Regions from separate parts of the Homo sapiens genome. Here regions 2 and 3 are each linked to region 1. Evidence: promoter capture Hi-C in human tissues and cell types (Jung and others, 2019). All regions are on one chromosome and are shown on one strand. The core of a region is centred on a gene start or on the middle of the fragment in contact, and the rest is flanking DNA. Distances in the headings are between cores, read along the strand shown. Region 1 holds the start of AIPL1 (AIP like 1 HSP90 co-chaperone). Region 2 overlaps LOC339166 (a long non-coding RNA gene). Region 3 overlaps LOC339166 (a long non-coding RNA gene).

The links. The method cuts DNA at HindIII sites, captures the fragments that hold promoters and counts their contacts. A contact is called where the count stands out against the background at its distance.
Region 2: a contact is called between a fragment that was not itself captured here and the fragment with the promoter of AIPL1 in region 1, in 2 of the 25 tissues and cell types used here (mesendoderm cells and spleen).
Region 3: a fragment that was not itself captured here is called in contact with the fragment with the promoter of AIPL1 in region 1 in 1 of the 25 tissues and cell types used here (spleen).

The regions. Positions count from the first base shown.
Region 1 is chr17:6,433,871-6,437,760 of GRCh38, reverse strand. AIPL1 (AIP like 1 HSP90 co-chaperone) reads left to right here and starts at 2,640. Exons shown (of 6, transcript NM_014336.5): 1 at 2,640-2,752; 2 at 3,663-3,842. The coding sequence starts at 2,657. LOC107985017 (a long non-coding RNA gene) reads left to right here. Exons shown (of 3, transcript XR_001752776.2): 3 at 424-463. The HindIII fragment of the contact is 7,871 bases long and covers 1-3,890 here.
Region 2 is chr17:5,791,698-5,795,587 of GRCh38, reverse strand. The region is part of intron 1 of LOC339166 (a long non-coding RNA gene); the gene reads right to left. Among named protein-coding and RNA genes, the nearest start is that of NLRP1, 210 kb to the right of the region's middle. The HindIII fragment of the contact is 5,445 bases long and covers 1-3,890 here.
Region 3 is chr17:5,811,191-5,815,080 of GRCh38, reverse strand. The region is part of intron 1 of LOC339166 (a long non-coding RNA gene); the gene reads right to left. Among named protein-coding and RNA genes, the nearest start is that of NLRP1, 230 kb to the right of the region's middle. The HindIII fragment of the contact is 3,094 bases long and covers 674-3,767 here.

The DNA of each region.
Region 1 (3,890 bases), core at 1,391-3,890:
TCTGATTTCCATAGGGCCCAGGGGATTGGTTTGACCAGGTGTGTCATTTACAAACCCCGCAAAACACCTGGCCTTCCCACCTTAGTCCTTTAATATGCAAATGTGGGTCGCTATGATGTTCTGAACACAAGGTGTTATCTGGAGGTGGCCACGACACTCGGTACACCTGGTGACAGGGAAAAGACAGCAGGAATCTCCATATGAGTGAACCCAGTTTCTAATGGCCAGCATTTGCATGTCAAGGTTTGCCAGCCTGGCCCTTTAAGCAGCCTTTTCTGTTAGAAAAGAGATGGTTTGGGGGCTTGTTTTTTATTGCAGGAAAATTTCCACCAAGAACCTTTACCCTTACTATCTGCCTAAAAATTATTTCTTAATAATTCCTGTATTAGTTTTACTAAGTATCCATTTTACCTATGCATGCAGACCTCTCTAGGTTGCCGTGTGGCTGGAGAAAGGATGGAAGAGAGAAGGGGAAGGTTTTCAGCAGCCTTCTGCCTTCCAGGGATGGAGACTGGACCCTTGGGGATCTGGCCAGGATTCCCTGGGCCTGACCAGTTGGCCCAGGTTTGGTCTCCTCTATGCCAATGACTCCTCACGGGAAGCAAGACTTTCATGAGTGCCGGATTTCAGGGTGCCATTCACTGCTGCAGCCCTCCCAACTTCCCCTGAGAAGGAGCAGGAGAGGTCAATTTTCTCATTTCAGTTGGGAAAATGCAGTTAGAGAAAACGAGAGACATCCAAGGCAACAAGGTCAGTAAATAGGAAAGGATCAGCCCTTTGAACTTAGCTGTATCTGGCTCAGTCCAGTCTTCTTCTTCTTCTTCCTTCTTCTTCCCTCTTCCCTCTTCCCTCTTCCCTCCTCCTCCTCCTCCTCCTCTTCCTTCTCCTTCTTCTTCTTCTTCTGACACAGTCTCACTCTGTGCCCCAGGCTGGAGTGCAGCAGCATGATCTTGGTGCACAGCAACCTTCATCTCCTGGATTCAAGCGATTCTCCTGCCTCAACCTCCTGAGTAGCTGGGATTACAGGTGCCCACCACCACATCCGACTAAGTTTTGTAATTTTAGTAGAGATGGGGATTCATCATGTTGGCCAGGCTGGTCTCTAACTCCTGATCTGAGGTGATCCACCTGCCTTGGCTCCCAAAGTCCTAGGATTACAGCCATGAGCCACTGCACCCAGCCTAGTCTAGCATTTTTTGTTTTGTTTTGTTTTTTTGAGACAGAGTCTCGCTGTGTTGCTCAGGCTGGAGTGCAGTGGCACGATCTCAGCTCACTGCAACCTCCGCCTCCCGGGTTCAAGCGAGGCTCCTGCCTCAGCCTCCTGAGTAGCTGGGATTACAGGTGCGCACCACCATGCCTGGGTAATTTTTGTATTTTTAGTACAGACTACTAAAAATACAAAACTCCTGACCTCAGGTGATCCACCTACTTCAGCCTCCTTAGTCCCGTGTTTTTATCTCTCCCTGTAGCAGAGTCCTGCACCCCTTCCCTCTGCAACCGGTGAGCCTGGTGTCAGGAAGAGAATGGTTTCGTGGAGCTGAGTCCAGTGCCCTCAGGGTGCGGAGGTGTAGGAGCTTGAACTGGCCACACGGTGGTGCCAAACACCAGGTCTTCGCATTTATGTTTCCCAGCCCTTCTGGGCGTCCCTGATGCCCTCAATAAACTCTGCCTGGTTCCCAGGGCACAGGGCTAAGGGCCTCCAAAGGGGAGGGGAGGGGAGGGGAGGGGAGGGGATACCCACCCTTCCCCCAGCCAGACCTTGCAGGGGAGGCAGGAGCGGGGCTGCGGAGGGCGCCTCAACTTTACCCAAACCCACCCCGCCTTTCGTTCTCCGTCTTCCTTCTCTCCCAAGCCAGAAACCTGTCCCCTCTTGCCTTGGGCCACCATCGCAGGGCCTCCTGAAGGCAGATTCTGGGGAGGGGAGGGGGAACAGGGAAAGCAGAAAGGTGGCTGGATGGCAAAGGGCAGCTGTCACCCCGGCTGGCCTGGGGTCCTCGGGGACTTAGAGTCTGGGCCCAGCCCATGCCTCCCCTCCTTTTCCCCTTCAGTGGCCTCCAGGCCTCTCTCCACATCGCCAGGCTGGAGTGCAGTGGCGCTATCTTGGCTCACTGCAACCTCCGCCTCCCGGGTTCAAGCGATTCTCCTGCTTCAGCCTCCCGAGTAGCTGGAACTACAGGCGCCCGCCACCACCCCCGGCTAATTTTTGTATTTTTAGTAGAGATGGGGTTTCACCATATTAGCCAGGATGGTCTCGATCTCTTGACCTTGTGATCTGCCCGCCTCGGCCTCCCAAAGTGCTGGGATTACAGGCGTGAGTCACCGCGCCTGGTCCCCTGTCTTCTTTAAGAAAGCTCAGCGGACCTTTTTCCTTCTTGGGGTGGAACAAAAAGCCAAATCTAGCACAACCCTGGGCAGGGGCCCAGAATCACTGGAAGCAAAGGTGGATGGGATAGGAGGCGAGGCTGCCTGTGGACCACAGGCCCGGCCCGAGTGGCTCTGATGAGAAGCCGGGGCGCCTAGGTCACCGCCCCCACCGTCTGCCCTTCCCCCCACTCCTCCTGGCTGGGTAAATCCCAGAGTCTCAGCCGCCTAAGTGTCTTCCCCGGAGGTGAGATTATCTCCGCCTGTGCTGGACACCTCCCTTTCTCCTGCAGCCATGGATGCCGCTCTGCTCCTGAACGTGGAAGGGGTCAAGAAAACCATTCTGCACGGGGGCACGGGCGAGCTCCCAAACTTCATCACCGGATCCCGAGTGAGTGGGGCCCCTCCGGAGCAGACAGGGTCCCCCACAGCAGCTTTCAACATTCCAGGTGTGCCCCAAGGCACTGTAAACAGCTTTCAGCTGTGCCAAAAAAACAGCCAGGCAGCCCCAGCGCTGGGCCTCCGGGGAGCTCCCAGCGTTTACCCATTCAGGGGGCATTTTTGGTACTTTGCAGATTCAACTTTAGCATGGGCTGAGGGGAAGGGCTTTTGGGAATTTTCTGGGGCCCTAAATGTTGAGTGAGAAGAAAGGGAGTCCGAGGAGTCTTGGTATTTGTCCCCAAATGTCTGTTAGGCTTCCCTGGACTGAAGGGTGCGTCTGTGGCTACAGAATTCGGGCTTTGGCCAGGCGAGGCGGCTCCCGCCTGTAATCCCAGCACTTTGGGAGGCCAAGATGGGCAGATCATGAGGTCAAGAGTTCGAGACCAGCCTGACCAACATGTGAAACCCCATCTCTACTGAAAATACAAAAATTAGCCAGATGTGCTGGGCGCCTGTAATCCCAGTTCAGATACTCAGGAGACTGAGGCAGGAGAATCACTTGAGCCCAGGAGGTGGAGGTTGCAGTGAGCCGAGATCATACCACTGCACTCCAACCTGGGCAACAGAGTGAGACTCTGTCTCAGAAAAAAAAAAAAAAAAAAGAACTCGGGCTTACTTGAGGAAGGATTTCTGGACGCACAGGGCTGTGGGGAGTGGAATGGGGTCTGTAGGGAGGGGTGGGTCCCTCCTCCCTGGGGGGTGCAGGCAGGGTGGAGGTGCTCCAGGGGTCTGAGGCATCTGATGGGGTGAACTGAGTGAGCTGACCCTGGGGACAGCCCTGGGTGTCGGTGGCAAGGGGGTGGCTTCTGCCGGGCCTTGAACAGTGTGTCTAGAGCAGAGTGCACCGTCTCGGTGACTAGGTGATCTTTCATTTCCGCACCATGAAATGTGATGAGGAGCGGACAGTCATTGACGACAGTCGGCAGGTGGGCCAGCCCATGCACATCATCATCGGAAACATGTTCAAGCTCGAGGTCTGGGAGATCCTGCTTACCTCCATGCGGGTGCACGAGGTGGCCGAGTTCTGGTGCGACACCATCGTAAGTAGGCCCTGCGCGCCTGTCTCCTGGGACTAGTCTTTTCTGGGC
Region 2 (3,890 bases), core at 509-3,008, 640 kb after region 1:
ATTAAGTGTTTTCTGCATGCTGAGGACTCTACACATATTTCATCTTTACAACAACCCTAGGAGGCAAGTAATAGCATCTCTAAGTTACAGTAAAGAAAACTGCAGCTTGGAGATATAGGAATCCGGGAAGATCTAGTAATCAAGGCCCTAGGAACTGACTCCAAAGCCTGTCCTTAAATACCGTTGAACAGGAGATGCTGGTGGAGAAGACAAAGCTTCAGCTGAGAGCATAGTAATGATAATAGCCAACGCTTGCACGGCATGGGCTGGGCCCCATTCTGGGTGTTTTGCATATGTCAGCAACATAAATCACAACACTTTAAGACATCATTTTAATCTACAGGAGGGGAAACAAGCAAGGCAAATTTAAGTAACTTGTCCAAGGTCACTGGTTAATAGTAGAGCTGGGATGCTCTTAACTGCTATACTACCCTGCCTCCCACCTGAGCTAGAACTAGGAGGTTTCTCTTTTTTGGTGGCTTCTAGATTCAGCACCTGTTACTCCCCACATGGGAGTCTCAGAGACAAGCCCTTTTCCCCATGGCTTACCACAGAAACTCTTGCCAAAATTACAATTTGATGGGGGGTGCCCTTGGCCCCTGTAGTAGCTGGGTTTCGTTCCTTCCCGGTTCTATGCCATCTGACAGGCACACTGATTCTCAAGGGTGGTGGACCCTGTCCTCAGATATAGGCACCAGCCATATCACCAGCCCGTCCTGAGCCCCAGCCCCTGGAACCTGGCTCTGCCTCTCAGCCACTTCACTCGAGTCTCTGACAAGGGCAGCTATTTTGGGTGAGAAATGGGGCAGGCAGAAAAAATTTCATTCAAGCCATTAAAGAATCACTGCATTTTTCATGATTAACTTCATGTGCGCAGATTGAATGCAAAAAGCTGTTAGCAGAGCATTTCCATTTCTGTACCTGACATGAGCAATGGGAATATTTGTTCTGCCCGGGAGGATTACACCTTCCATTAATCTCAGTTTTATTGAAAGTTTCAATAACAGACAGACACAATGTGATCAATTAGCTGTGTAATTCCAAGGAGATGTCATAGTAAAATTAAATCTCGAGCACATTCACGGCAAAGATGCCGGCAAGTTCTCTCCAGTCTCCCTTCACCATCGCAGTGTGTATATTTTAATTGAAAGTTTATTCTGCTATGTGCCTCGTCTACTAAATTTTAATTTAACATTGTAATGAAGAGGGTGTTTCTGAGGAGCTCTTCATAGACAAGTCCAGGAGGTTTCACAAATTAAGAGAACAAGTGAATTTATGGTACTTTCCAAGCTGCTGTGGGAGAAGAGGGCACCCCTAATCCTTTGGAGGGTATCTCAGGGCCTGGAGGACCAGCCCAAGGGATGTTTAGCAAGTCTGGGCAGCTGGACCAAACGGTGACCACATCATAGAAACTGTAAGGTCCCAAGAGACTGGGATCTCAGGCCAGACCACTTACAGGGGCAACAAGCAAAACAGGAAGCTCCACAGCTCTTCTCCCTTCTCCTGCCTCCAGCATCCCTCTAGTGCCCCCTAATGACAAAACCCAATAGGAAACCCGCTGGCTAAGTAAAAATGCTGTTCCCACTCTCAGCTGCAAGTTGCAGAGCTGAGTGTGGAAAGGCAAGTCTGAAGGTGAGAGGCAGTAGCTTAGTAACCAACAAAAACTTGGGAACATCCCCTTGCCCTTTTGACCTTTAGCTTTCTCAACTGTAAAATGTAGATAATAATACCCAAGTCTCAGGGTTGTGGAGAAAATCCAGCAAGACAGAGACCTAATTGCAGGGTTTGGAGGGTACAATCTAAAGGTGAGAGGAATTGGAATTGTTCTTTTCCACCACCTGTCAGAAAAATCCCAAGGGAGCTTTTCCAGACTGGAGACTCTCCTTCTTTCAGATGACACCAGAAAATGATGTCATGTAGCTGAGGTTTCAGAAAGGTCTTGGGTTAGGAGGTGACCTGAAGTTCAGGCTGATGCGGGAGGAAGACAGAGGGATAGAGCCTTCATTGTCCCCAGCAACAGAACCAAAGTAGAATGAGCATCGGCCTATTCTGTTTCGTCAAAGCCAGAAGTCAGTCTCCACATGGGTCATTTCACTGAAGCCTTGAATTTATGCCTACCAGACTGTATCTAACTTATTGTTGTAACCCAGCAGCCTGCGCAGTACTTGACCCCTGGCATGCACTCAATGTGTTGCAGATTTGAAATAGAATTACAAAACTGTAGGAATTGGGTGCCCTAGTGGCAACTGCTGGTGAGAGGTGGTATTGCAATTCAGCTCTATGAGACCCTATACATGCCCAGAAGTGAGTACATCTTTGGAAGCTGCCAGTGTGGAATCAAAGAGTTTCCAGGGAAAGAAAAAGAATATATGCCAATGTTCGGAATTTAGTTAAATGGCAAAGAAAAGGAAAAAGATGTCATCTCTGGCTTTGTTGTCTCCCACTGTACCACTTGCTCACTCCATTCCATCCACAATGCCTTCCTACCCAAGTATACCCTGCAGTCTCCCGCCTCAGGCCTTTGGCCTTGCTGTTTTCTCTGCCCAAAAACACCTTCTCATATATTCTCATGGCTTGCTTTGTGGTCCCTACTCAAATGTCACCTCCTCAGAAGAGACTTCTCTGACCACTGCATTTAAAATGGTAACAATTCCTGTCATTCTTGCATTTCTTCAATGCACTTTCTTGTTTTTCTTTAATGCACTTATTACCTGCCATTATCTTGTACATATGTATTCAATTTTTTTCTTTGTCTCCTGAATATAAATTCCCTGAGAGTAGATGTCTTCATTGTTCTCAATTTTATCCCTAGCACCTAATATATGAACATAATAGTCACTCAAAAAGTATGTGTTGAATCACTAGAGAGAAAAAGACTGTGATGTGACTTAATGACAGCACTTTTAGGAGATTTCTGCACTTCTAATAGATTTGTTGTAAGCTGTGCTGTGAAGACTTTTCTCAGCTGAGCATTGACAAGGGTCCCTGTGAGAAAAGAGGCCCACAGTCCAGAAATCACGGATTCACCCGGGTAATGAGTGCTGCCATTGTCCTTCCCTAAATGCCCCTTCTGGTCTTCAATGGTGAACACGCTTCACTAATGAAAACCAGAAGAGACATTCTGGTGAAGCCCAGGAAACGACTGATCCATGTCTGTGGTGGACAGAGTATGTCTTGCTCTCCTTTCATGGGAAAAAAAAAACCCAGCAAAGAGGCCATAAGTGCAACCTAAGACTTTAGAAGTTAGTGTCCACAGGCCCTGAGAACTCTGAGGTAGTCTGTGGAGCATTTGTCAGTGCCCCACATTTATTATATTGTTACACATTTATTGTATTGTTCTTTGTGTTCACACAAGAAAGTCATTAAATCCTCATGAAAACACATCTCTGGCTTAATAATAGAAGTTAATGGAGAACTAGGATTTGCTTTGCTATCAACTTGGCTAAAATAGAGCTCATTCTATAATGCAACCGTCATCTGAATTTGCTGTCATCAGTCCCAATCAGTCTATTCTGTATCATTTCAGATAGCTAAAGAGAAAATATTTGGAAACTTGGTAACACAGAAGATTTTTTTAACAGTTAAGACTGGAATCCACATGGAGACCAACAAGATTAACTCTTGAATGTGGCTGATATTGTGTTCATGAGACAGAAGAAAGGTACTTCAAGATGCAACACCTTCTTTTGGAAACTCCAGTCTAAGTTGGCCAAGTCAAGACCAAGCTTATCAGATCCATCGGATTCTGGACTAGATCTTCCAACTGAACCTCCAGAGTCAGTGGCTGAAACTGGAGCATGTGTGCCAGTACCTGGCCACACTAATTATGAGGGCAGGTGGGAAGAGACAAAGAAGGAGGTTTCTTCCATTCCTGGATTCCTTCTTCTCCC
Region 3 (3,890 bases), core at 971-3,470, 620 kb after region 1:
GTTCTGACAAATTGATGGTGAAATGCACGTTATCTTTCTGAGGGACAACTGGGTAATAAGAATTAAAAGAATTCTAAGTATACTTTTGGTGTAGCAATTCTAGGAATTGATCCTGAGGAAATAATCAAGAATCACAGAAAACTTTGGGAGCTTTAAAAATATACAGATGCCTGGAACCCGCCGTCAGGAATTCTGAATTCTGGGGTGCTGTTAGAGGGTTGTCCATTAGAGTTTCTATCATGATCCTGAAAAATCAGTGGACAAAACCCAAATAGCCAATGACTTAGGGCTGGACAAAAATACACTACACTGTAAAATATTTCAAGAAATAATATGAACCATTACAATAATTTTTTTTTTTTGAGACGGAGTTTCGCTCTTGTTGCCCAGGCTAAAGTGCAGTGGCGCAATCTCGGCTCACCGCAACCTCCACCTCCCGGGTTCAAGCAATTCTCCTGCCTCAGCCTCCTGAGTAGCTGGGATTACAGGCATGCACCATCACGCCCGGCTAATTTTGTATTTTTAGTACAGACGGGGTTTCTCCATGTTGGCCAGGCTGGTCTCAAACTCCCGACCTCAGGTGATCCACCTGCCTCAGCCTTCCAAAGTGCTGTGATTACGGGCATGAGCCACCATGCCCAGCCCCATTAAAATCATTTTAGAAATATGTTTAGAGACTTGGAAAGGTGTTCACATTAAGATTAAAAATAGTGTGTTTATTGATTTCCAATCATTGCATACATATATAATATAGTGAGAAAGAATTAATATATATGAAGTAATGGAAGGACCTACCTCTGTAATATTAACAATCATTTTTCCTAAGTAAGAGCATTATTACTGTGGTTACATTTATTTTCTTTCTTTCTTTCTTTCTTTTTTTTTTTTTTGAGACAGAGTCTCCCTCTGTCACCCAAGCTGGAGTGCAATGGCATGATCTTGGCTCACTGCAACCTCCGCCTCCCGAGTTCAAGTGATTCTCCTGCCTCAGCCTCCCAAGTATCTGGGACTACAGGTGCACACCACCACACCTGGCTAATTTTTGTATTTTTAGTAGAGACAGGGTTTTACCACATTGGCCAGGCTGGTCTCAAACTCCTGACCTCAGGTGATCCACCCGCTTCAGCTTCTCAAAGTGCTGGGATTATGTGTTATTTTCTTAATTATATTTTCTAATTTTGCTACAGTAAACATGTATTATTTGTAATTTTAAAAAGTTAAAGTTGGCGCAGGTTAAACACATGCATTTAGCACTGCTCTATCTCAAGCCTCACTAAAATAACAATAAAAGGATTTCTTTTAAGTCATAAGCCCATTAGGTTTTAAAAGGTAAGTGAAAGGATATAACTACAACAAAATTTTGGAAGCAGGAAAGCAGCTGGAGGAGCAGTTGGAAGGGCTGTAACTAAGAAATCTGCTTCTCAATCAAGAGTAAGAAAAGCCAACAGGCAACCTGGATTACATCTCAGACCACCTGCCCCCACTACCATAGTCTGCTGGAAATGTAGATTAACATGTGACAGAAACAAAGCCATTAGTTGAGAGTCTGTGTAAGAAGATCGCAAGTCCCTTTTTCCTCACCCCTGCAGAGAACTGAAGCTTTAGTCTCTGGAAGGTCTATTCTCTAGGGAAAGGAAAAAAAATAGAGGCACTGAAGCACCCCAGATACAGCAGAGAGCAGGGAGAATTAGTAAAGGTTTGCAGACTCAGTGCGGAACCCCACCTCCCAGACTTCTTCTCGCCCTCAGCTCCCAGATTGCTAGGCAGGACATGGAAATGATCTCCAGGTCATCTGACAATCTCCAAAGGAAAAACCTAGAGATACCAACATTGAGATGCCCAGAGACCAGCTACGTGAAGCTCACAATTGACAAGCTGTATCCATAAGCGCAGCTTCCAGTTAGCTTTCAAATATGAGCTGGAACTAAGGCTCCCCAGACAGTTGAGGAGAACTTTAATGTGAAAGACAGAAACTTAAATAAGCATGGGAAAAAGAGCAGCTTGGAGGAGGCAGAGACCTTGCAGGAAAAGGGAAACTTAAAGAGAGAGAAAACTATCCATCACAGTAGTGTAAACCAAAAGTATCTGAGACAGGTCTCAATCAATTTAGGAAGCTTATTTTGCAAAGGTTAAGGACACAGCCTCAGGAGATCCTGAGGACGTGTGCCCAAGGTGGGCAGGGAACGGCTTCGTTTTATTCATTTAGGGAGACATGAGACATTAATCACTACATATAATATGTACATTGGATCCATCTGGAAATGTGGGACAACCAGGGTGGGGCTTCCAAGTCATAGATGGATTCAAAGACTTTCTGACTGGCAATTGGTCAAAAGAGTTATTCTCAATAGAGAGGAATGGCTGGGTGCGGAGGCTCATGCCTGTAATCCCAGCACTTTGAGAGGCTCAGGCAGGCGGATCATGAGGTCAGGAGATTGAGACCATCCTGGCTAACATGGTGAAACCCCATCTCTACTCAAAATAAAAAAAACTAGCCAGGAGTGGTGGCGGGCACCTGTAGTCCCAGCTACTCAGGAGGCTGAGGCAGGAGAATGGCATGAACCCAGGAGGTGGAGCTTGCAGTAAGCCGAGATTGCACCACTGCACTCCAGCCTGGGTGATAGAGCAAGACTCTGTCTCAAAAAAAAAAAAAAAAAAAAAAATCACTAGAAAGGAATGTCTGGGTAACCATAAGGGGTTGTGGAGACCAAGGCTTTATCATGCAGACAAAGACTCCAGGTAGCAGGATACAGAGAGAATAGACTGTAAATGTTTCTTCTCAGATGTACAGAGTCTGTTCTATCCATAATTCCAAAAGGGCAGAGGGGATAATGAGGCATGTCCAGCTCCCTCTTCCCATCATGGCCTGAACTTGTTTTTCAGCTTAACTTTGGAATGCCCTTGGCCAAGAGGAGGGGTCCCTTTAGATGGCTGTGGGGGTCTTAGAATTTTATTTTTGGTTTGCAGAGAGGAAAGATTGCTGTAAAAAAATAATGAGGCCAGGCGCAGTGGCTCACGCTTGTAATTCCAGCCTTTTGGGAGGCTGAAGCAGGCAGATTATGAGGTCAAGAGATCAAGACCATCCTGGCCAACATGGTGAAACCCCATCTCTACTAAAAATATAAAAAATTAGCCAGGCATGGTGGCTCACGCCTGTAGTCCAGCTACTCGGGAGGCTGAGGCAGGAGAACCACTTGAACCCAGGAAGCAGAGGTTGCAGTGAGCCGAGATCATGCCACTGCACTCCAACCTGGTGACAAAGTGAGATTCTATCTCAAAAAAACAGAAAATGGCACCGATTAAAAAAAAAGAATGAAATAACATAAACATCAAAAAACTTCTAAAATTATCAAATAGCTTCTAAAATTATGCAGAAATGAAAAACTCATTAGGATAGACGATAGAGTGAAGAGATATCTCCCAAAAGACAAAAAGGTGGAAAGGAGAAAAATATGTTAGCAGACATGTCCAGAAGGTATAATATTTAAACAAAAGGAATTTCAGAAAGGGGACCTGAGAAAATGATGAAAGGAACAATTGACTAAAAATCCCAAAACTGAAGGATCCACATTGAAAGGAAAATAATTACCAACCTATAAGTCTTTACCCAGCAAAGCTACCAATTATGTGTAAAGGTCAAATGAAGATATTGTCAGACATGCAAGATGTCAAAAGTCTATCTTCCAGGCACTGTTTCTCATGAAAACAGCAGAGATGGGTTGGTCCCCAATAAGCAGGGTAAACAGAGAAAGAGATACAGGGGACAGAGTACACAGGAGATCCAACCCAGGAGACAGGCAAAGAGAATCTCCACAATGATGTGATGGAAGGTCCCAGATGTCAACTAAGCAGCAGGCTGGGAGAACACCCACCTCTGACAGGCTGGTTAG